2 separate regions of the Homo sapiens genome follow, and region 2 is linked to region 1. The links are contacts of gene promoters, found by promoter capture Hi-C in blood cells and fetal thymus (Javierre and others, 2016). All regions are on one chromosome and are shown on one strand. The core of a region is centred on a gene start or on the middle of the fragment in contact, and the rest is flanking DNA. Distances in the headings are between cores, read along the strand shown. Region 1 holds the start of CEP70 (centrosomal protein 70). Region 2 holds the start of PCCB (propionyl-CoA carboxylase subunit beta).

The links. The method cuts DNA at HindIII sites, captures the fragments that hold promoters and counts their contacts. A CHiCAGO score of 5 or more calls a contact.
Region 2: a contact is called between the fragment with the promoter of PCCB here and the fragment with the promoter of CEP70 in region 1, in 2 of 17 cell types (fetal thymus and activated CD4 T cells). The highest score is 9.9, in fetal thymus.

Annotation. Positions count from the first base shown.
Region 1 is chr3:138,592,760-138,596,580 of GRCh38, forward strand. CEP70 (centrosomal protein 70) reads right to left here and starts at 1,501. Exons shown (of 18, transcript NM_024491.4): 1 at 1,439-1,501. RefSeq lists an enhancer at 1,706-1,765. The HindIII fragment of the contact is 6,508 bases long and covers 1,111-3,821 here.
Region 2 is chr3:136,248,607-136,252,468 of GRCh38, forward strand. It overlaps PCCB (propionyl-CoA carboxylase subunit beta), which reads left to right and starts at 1,734. Exons shown (of 15, transcript NM_000532.5): 1 at 1,734-1,952. The coding sequence starts at 1,770. RefSeq lists enhancers at 1,373-2,239, 1,469-1,528, 2,159-2,208. The HindIII fragment of the contact is 10,493 bases long and covers 1-2,217 here.

The DNA of each region.
Region 1 (3,821 bases), core at 251-2,750:
TGGGGGAGGGGAGCTGACAATAAACCATGGCCAATAACTGTTCCTTCTCAACTGAATCACACCAAAATCTGTAAGCATCTTCAAAAGTATATACTTCAAATTACTGCAATAAATGAACATGTAACCCTTTCGAAGTCTCTATTCCTTATTAAATGCAAAAGCTCTATTCTAAAAATATTGCAACTTGCTGTTTAATGTTCCTAAGAAAGAGCTGAACTTACCCCAAATAGGAAAGAGTTAAAATGGAATGTCATCTCAACCAAATCATTCTGTCTCAGGAGAGGTGACATGAAGGGGCAGAACCTTGCTTTGAAGCAAAAGCTGTAGGGAAAACTCCAAGTCAGCCACCTCTTCCCCAAAAGGCGGGGCAGGGGAGGCCAGAGTCTACTTGGCAATATTTAAAGTACAAAACTCATGCAGAGGCTTGAAACCAATATGGGTAATGCCTGCACAGAGTTTAATATATTATACATATATTTTTGAGACAGAGTCTCGCTCCGTCACCCAGGCTGGAGTGCAGTGGCGCGATCTCGGCTCACAGCAACCTCCGCCTCCCGAGTTCAAGCGATTCTGCTGCCTCACCCGCCCGAGTAGCTGGGATTACAGGCGCACACCACCATGCCCAGCTAATTTTTGTATTTTTAGTAGAGACGTGGTTTCATCATGTTGGCCAGGGTGGTCTCGAACTCCTGACCTCAGGGGATCCGCCCACCTCGGCCTCCCAAAGTGCTGAGATTACAGGCGTAAGCCACTGCGCCCTGCCTGTTTAATATCATTGATTGAAAAACAAAGTGGCAGTAAAAAAGGAAACTCTGATTGGTCTCTCTGTTACAGGTGACTTAGCCTTCTGGCATTTTTCACCTTGAAAAACTCCTATTAGGCCCTGTATAAAGTCAGAGGTCTCCTGAATCCGGAATGAGGTTAATAAACTGGAGAAAGAGATACTCACCTGTGCTATTCGCCTAACCGCCCCCTTCTGCTCCGAGTCCTCACTCCCCAAACAACCTTCGCGGTTGTTTGACACAAAACTAGCGCTTCAGCCCGGGTCGATTTTGGGGGATGGAGTAATTACCTACAGCTTAAATCGAGTCTGTGCCCGACGTGATTCTAAGCTTTACTCTTACTGCCTCATTTAACCCTCACAACCACCTTGTAAGGCAAGAATTACCAGCTTTAGTATACAAATAAAGAATCGGAGGCGCTGAGACATTAAAGGAGAAGCCAAAGAACACAAAGCCTGGGGAGCTGGGACTGGAGGCAGTTTTGTCCGATCCCCAAACCCTTACGCAGGGATTTTTAATTGGCGCGACCCTGTCCCAGATGGCTCCTCCCCGACAAGGGTCAGTCTGACCACTTTTAGGCCCAGGTGAGGTCAAGTCCGGGGTACTCCGGGAAGGGGCTCACGCCGACGCCTCTGAGAGCCCCGAGAGCCACTCACCTTACTCAGTCGCCGGCCTCCCACCAGCAGCCAGCCGGGCCAGGTTAGGCTGGGATCAGCTACGTCAGGCCCCGCCTCCGCGACCGTTACCACCGCCGGGGGAGGGCGGCCAATCGAGCCCGAGCGCGTCGAGGGCCAGCCCCTCTTTGGCCTGCGAATGCCCCCAAACGATTCTCTCCAGCCTCTCCGGGAAGCTGGGTCCGCCCCGCTCCCTCCGGTTGGCTCACTACGGGGGGCGGGGCTTACCGCAAACGAAGGCGTCGGTGCGATGTGCTGGTCTCGGGCACGCTGGCGCTTCCAACGCACTCCTTGGGTGCCCTGTCACTTACATGGAGGCTTATTTGCCCGGAAGACGTCAGAAATACTTGTGGCCGTGGGTGAAAGTGAAGCCTGGGTTACCTGGCCACCAGAGACTGCCCTCTCTCTCGCCCCCTACCCCGCCGCGACTACGAGCCCTTGCTGGGGTACGGGTCAGCATGTTCTCGATGTTCCAGACCTGAATGACCACTGTAGCAGCTGACATTTGGAGGACCCCAATAAATATTTGTTGACGACAGTTCATCTTCCCATTCAGCATTTTCCACATCTCGACGAAGCGTCAGGCCCTACCTGAGGCTGTAGCTGTCCACCATTGTCATTGTATCTTATAGCCACATGGTGTCGCTGTTGACAACTTGTCTTTTCAAATCAGTCAAATGATGTAGGTCTGTGTTACAGTCAAATGTTGCAACAGACTGTGTTGCAGTCAAATGATGCAGGTCCCACAGTAGCCAACAGGGATGTCCCATCTAGGGCATCAGCCAAGGGTCTCTCATCAGGAGATCCAAGGGCTCTTGGAGCTCAATACTTTCAGACCCTTCTTAGCCTTCTTCCAGGCAGCTGGGACTACACTTAGGTTTGATCTCTGTGTTTGCCCCATGCAAACATGTCCCTACCCCAACCTACGCCTACCCACTGTGCTTTCCATACCTGGATATTCACTCTAACGACGGTTAGCAGATTGCATTTTCAGTTCTCAAAATGCAAATAGTCTCAGTGCTTCCCTTTTCCAAGATAATAGGGTGCCCTTGCATACTCTTCTGAGAATGGCTGCCCTAATTGTAGAGGCCAAACATCTTTGAGTCAGTTATTATTATTTTGGATGCACGTGATATAGAATCTGAGTTAAACTGTCTTCCTAAAAAATAAAGAAGTTGCTTATCTCGCATAACAGAAAGCTCAGAGGCAAGGGAGACTTTGATTAATTCAGTGGCTAAGCAAGTTAACAAGGACCCAGTTGCTATTAGTCTCTGCTTTGTTGTAAAAAAAAAAAAGGGTAGACTTCAAATTCATACTAACGTGATTTTCCAGATGTCTACTTGGAGAAATCAGGACCACATACTTTCTTTTTCATCTAAAACCTTTCCTTCTGGTTTTTTGAGCCAATAAGTTCACACAGGCACACACTCTTCCTCTTTACCAGTAACTGCCTGGGAAATGTACAGACAGCTTAAGCCTGGGTTCCAGAAGTGAAAAGGAGCTATGACAATTGGAATTGGCAATGGTGTCAGTGCTCTTTGAGTCACATGAGTTGCAAGGTGGAGACATGGCTATTTGAATAAAACTGGAGACCTGTAAAGGAGAAGAGGAAAATGGATGCTAGATGGATGATCACCAGTATCTTTCACAGTCTTCAAAGCACAAGAAGGCTGATTCCTCTCTATTTTCTAACTGAATTTTTTATGTGGTGAATGGAGGGGAAGAGTTGCTATAGCACTGCCCTCCAAAACAATTCCCTTCTTATGGACCATGAAAGCCTTTCCAGCACCTCTCTTTGCTAGAGAAGGAAAACATCCCTGCACACAAACTTAGTCTTTCACTGAGAATCCTGCTACATTGGTCTCAAGAGTTTTCTATGGGCCTCATCTACCCAATAGAATTCTAATAATTCTAAACATTCATTTAACATTCATTCATTTATAAAAATGTGTTGGCCGGGCACAGTGGCTCACGCCTGTAATCCCAGCACTTTGGGAGGCCAAGGTAGGTGGATCACCTGAGGTCAGGAGTTCGACAACAGCCTAGCCAACATGGGGAAACCCCATCTCTACTAAAAATACAAAATTGGCCGGGTGTGGTGGCACATGCCTGTAATCCCAGCTACTTAGGAGGCTGAGGCAGGAGAATCGCTTGAACCCGGGAGGCGGAGGTTGCGGTGAGCCGAGATCTCACCATTGCACTCTAGCCTGGGCAACAAGAGCAAAACTCCGTCTCAAAAAAAAAAAAATTTTTTTGTTAAGCACCTGTTTTGTACCAGGGATTGAACTAGATGCTGAGTCAGATTTATAAGTGGGGGAGTTTACAATAGTAAGTAAGCCCAGTTGTGATTCCTGCCTTCGTGGAT
Region 2 (3,862 bases), core at 484-2,983, 2.3 Mb before region 1:
GCCTCTAAGCTGCCCTCTCTATCTAGATGAACTGTTACTACTCCAGGAAATGCAATCAGTACTGATGTTTAGTTCTTGGCACATGGTAGGTGCTCAAAAATGTTTTCTGAGTTGAATTGCATTAACATTAAGGTCATAGGTCAGAATTTGTACTTTATGAAGGCCCTGGCTATGAGCTGGATCTGGGAAGGGCTCATGATCAACTTTAGCAGTTTTCTGTGGCTAAAAATGAGAAATATAAACCATGTTCTTTGTCTTGAAGACCTGCCTGTTAGTGGGAGAAACAGATGGTCAAGCTCTCAACAGTACAATTCCAAATTCCTAGAGCAGTGGTTCTTAAACTTTAGCAAGCAGATCAGAATCACCTAAAGGTCATCTGCTAAAACAGATGGCTGGCCCCAGCCCCAGAGTTTCTGATTTAAAGGTCTGGAGTAAGTTCTGAGAATTCGAGCTTGCATTTCCAACTCACTCCCAGGTGATACTGAAGTTGCTGGATTGACAAGATTCCCTCCTTGATCAAACATTGGTCAGGCTCTTCTGAGCTCTCTCTTTGACTAGGCCTGAGTGTGGGCTCCCATGTCATTCCTTGTGGAATTCCATTTTAGCAAGAAACTTGCCAAGTCAGTTTAGCCAGAATCCTCCATTCTTGATATCTGATTACTCTCCATATCTGGTTTTGACCCATACCGCCACCATCCCCCAGGTGATGTTCAGTTACCCTGACCTGCCTTGGGCAGGAATCCTGTTAGGTCAATTTAGCCAGATTCCCCGCCAATGTTTCCTCTTAGTAATTTTCCATCCACTGACTTCCACACACTGCCCCTTAGCTATAAATTACCACTTTGCTATATTCAGCCCAATCGCTCTGACTTATGGCAAAACTCTATCCCTACCTCTGTCAGATTGGGCCTGAATAAAGTTTGCCTTACCATTCTTAAACATGAATAATTAAGTGTCATGAATAGTTTTTTCTTTAATGGGATCCATACTTTGAGAACTACTGATTAGAGGTTAAGGGTCCTGTGCTCATTATCTGGCACATATTAATGATAGGTCTCTGAGTTTGAATCCTGGCCAACCACATTGTCAGTCTTGGCTTTTTTTTTTTTTTTTTTTTGAGACAGGGTTTTGCCCAGGCTGGAGTGCAGTGATGCAATCACGGCTCACTGCAGCCTCGACTTCCTGGGCCAAGCCATCCTGCCGCCTTAGCCTCCCGAGTAGCTGGGGTCACAGGTGCAAGCCGCCATGCCCAGCTAATTTTTAATTTTTTTGTAGAGGTGGGGTCTTACTATATTGCTCAGGCTGGTCTTGGGCTCCTGGGCTCACCTACCTCGGCCTCAGTCTTGCCTCTTGATCAAATCACTCATCTCTCTGTGCTTGATTTACCTCATCTGTGAAATCCAGATAGTAAGCTAGTGCATGGTAAGTGCAAAAAGCAACACCTGGCACAATGCTTAATAAATGTTGGTTAAATCTTATAATCATTTTCTGTAGGAAGTGGGACGACAAAGTTAAGGGTCTAGGTGGTCAGAGAAGAGCAAGGACTATGTCCCTTTTTTGTGCAGCCAGGCAGGCCCTGTACTTTTTCTCTGCGCGACCCTCCTCGGGCAGCACCGGGTCTCGAACTCTCACGCCTTACTCCCAAGCAGGTTCTGTAGTCCAGCCCCCGCGGCTCCCTACAGCCAGCCGATGCTGCGCAAGCGCCGTACCCACGCTTTAGCACATGCGTACTCAGGTGCGCCGGTAGGGGACGCGCCGGCACAGCAAAAATGGCGGCGGCATTACGGGTGGCGGCGGTCGGGGCAAGGCTCAGCGTTCTGGCGAGCGGTCTCCGCGCCGCGGTCCGCAGCCTTTGCAGCCAGGCCACCTCTGTTAACGAACGCATCGAAAACAAGCGCCGGACCGCGCTGCTGGGAGGGGGCCAACGCCGTATTGACGCGCAGCACAAGCGAGTGAGTCCTGAGGGGCCTAAGTGAGTCCCGCCCCTGGCGTCCGCGACCTATCACTGCGTGCCCGGCTTGCGGCGTCCGAGGCCTCCCTGCCAATCCGCACGGTGCCTGGAGGGGCCGGAGCAAGGGTGTTCACCTTGAAAACCTGTAGCGTTTCTCGTGGAGGCGGGTATAACCAGCAGAAGCACCTGTGTGCTTTTTCATACTGTTTAACCCTTGGGATTTAGACGGATCTGGCTCGTCTCTAGCCAGCTCAACACTTAACATAAGCTTTTGGGCAACTTATTAAATCTCTGTGGGTCATTTTAATAATAATTCTTCCTTCACAAGTGTATCGTTAGACCATAGATAGCAAAATGATAGGCGCTCAGTAAAAACCATGTGCTTATTCTCGTGCCCCATGAAAGAGTGATGGTAGGTTCTTTCTCCTTTGTGGAAGCAGGAAAACTGAACTTGGGCATACTCCACTAACATGAAATGGGGGATGTGCGCGTGCAGGAACTTGTGGAACTTCTGCCCGCAGAATGCCTGGTCGAGCTCTTTAGGGCCTTAGCATGCCTCGCCTTGATGGGTAGCAAAGGCACGTGTCGGAAGCAGGTGGCCTTTCTGGGAGTGCGCAGGCTACTCTCGATGTTTGGCTGGACTGAGCAGTTGAAACACTGCCACCCACCGCCTGGGTTTTGAGGCGAGAATCCAGCTGGCCTTCAGAGATAAGCTGGGCGGCCCATTTTGGAGAGGTGATCCCTGACTTGAAACCAGGCTTGCCCAGTGTGTCCGTGACTGGTGGGTGAGTCTGGACCGTTGTGCTGAACGAATTAACCAACGGGAAGGTGCAGAAGTGAAACTCTTACAGATGAAGAGTATTCAGGCACAACTCACAACCATGAGGGAGGCACTGGGGGAGGGATGGGGTCTTAAAGTGAGGAGATTTGAACAGCTCTATATTTGTCTAATATTGATTCAGATGTCATAAATTCGCATTTGACAAGGGTCCAAAGGTAACAGTTCCTTTTGACACTTGAGAGTGAAATGTAAATTTAGTGATGGTTTGTGGTGCTAGGAGTGCTTTCTCTCCCCTGGGGCTACTTCTAACCTACTCTGTTAGGGCTGAGGGAGATGTTAGATCATCCTCTGGAAAGGCCTGTCAGTGCTCCTGTACACTCTTTCTGTTGGGGCCTATTGCTCAATTCTTCCCTGGAACATCGCCTAGCCCTTTCCCAGGTAGATCCTACTAGGTTTAGATGAAGCCTCCAGAAGCTGTTTTTCTTTTGCCAAAGTTAACTTAGGAGGCTGATTTAATATGAACCCCCTCCTGCACCCCTTTTTATTTTTATGTTTTGATACGGAGTTTTGCTCTTGTTGCCCAGGCTGGAGTGCCATGGTGCGATCTTGGCTCATTGCAACCTCTGCCTCCCAGGTTCAAGCTATTCTCCTGCCTCAGCCTCCCAAGTAGCTGGGATTACAGGTGCCCACGACCATGCCTGGCAACTTTTTTTTTGTATTTTTAGCAGAGACAGGGTTTCACCATGTTGGCCAGGCCGGTCTTGTACGCCTGACCTCAAGTGATTCACCCACCTTGGCGTCCCAAAGTGTTGGGATTATGGGTGTGAGCCACTGCACCCGGCCCTGCACCCCTTTTAAAACAATTTTTGACCATTTCCGTAGATTTTCCCAGAAGAGGAATTAGTGGGTCAAAGGGTGTAAGTTTATTTATTTTTTTTGAGACAGAGTTCACTCTGTTGCCCAGGCTAGAGTGCAGCAGCTCACTGCAACTTCTGCTTCCCAGCTTCAAGCAATTCTCCTGCCTCAGCCTCCAGAGTACCTGGGGTTACAGGTATGTGTCACCACATCTGGCTAATTTTTGTATTTTTAGTAGAGATGGAGTTTCACCATGTTGGCCAGGCTGGTCTTGA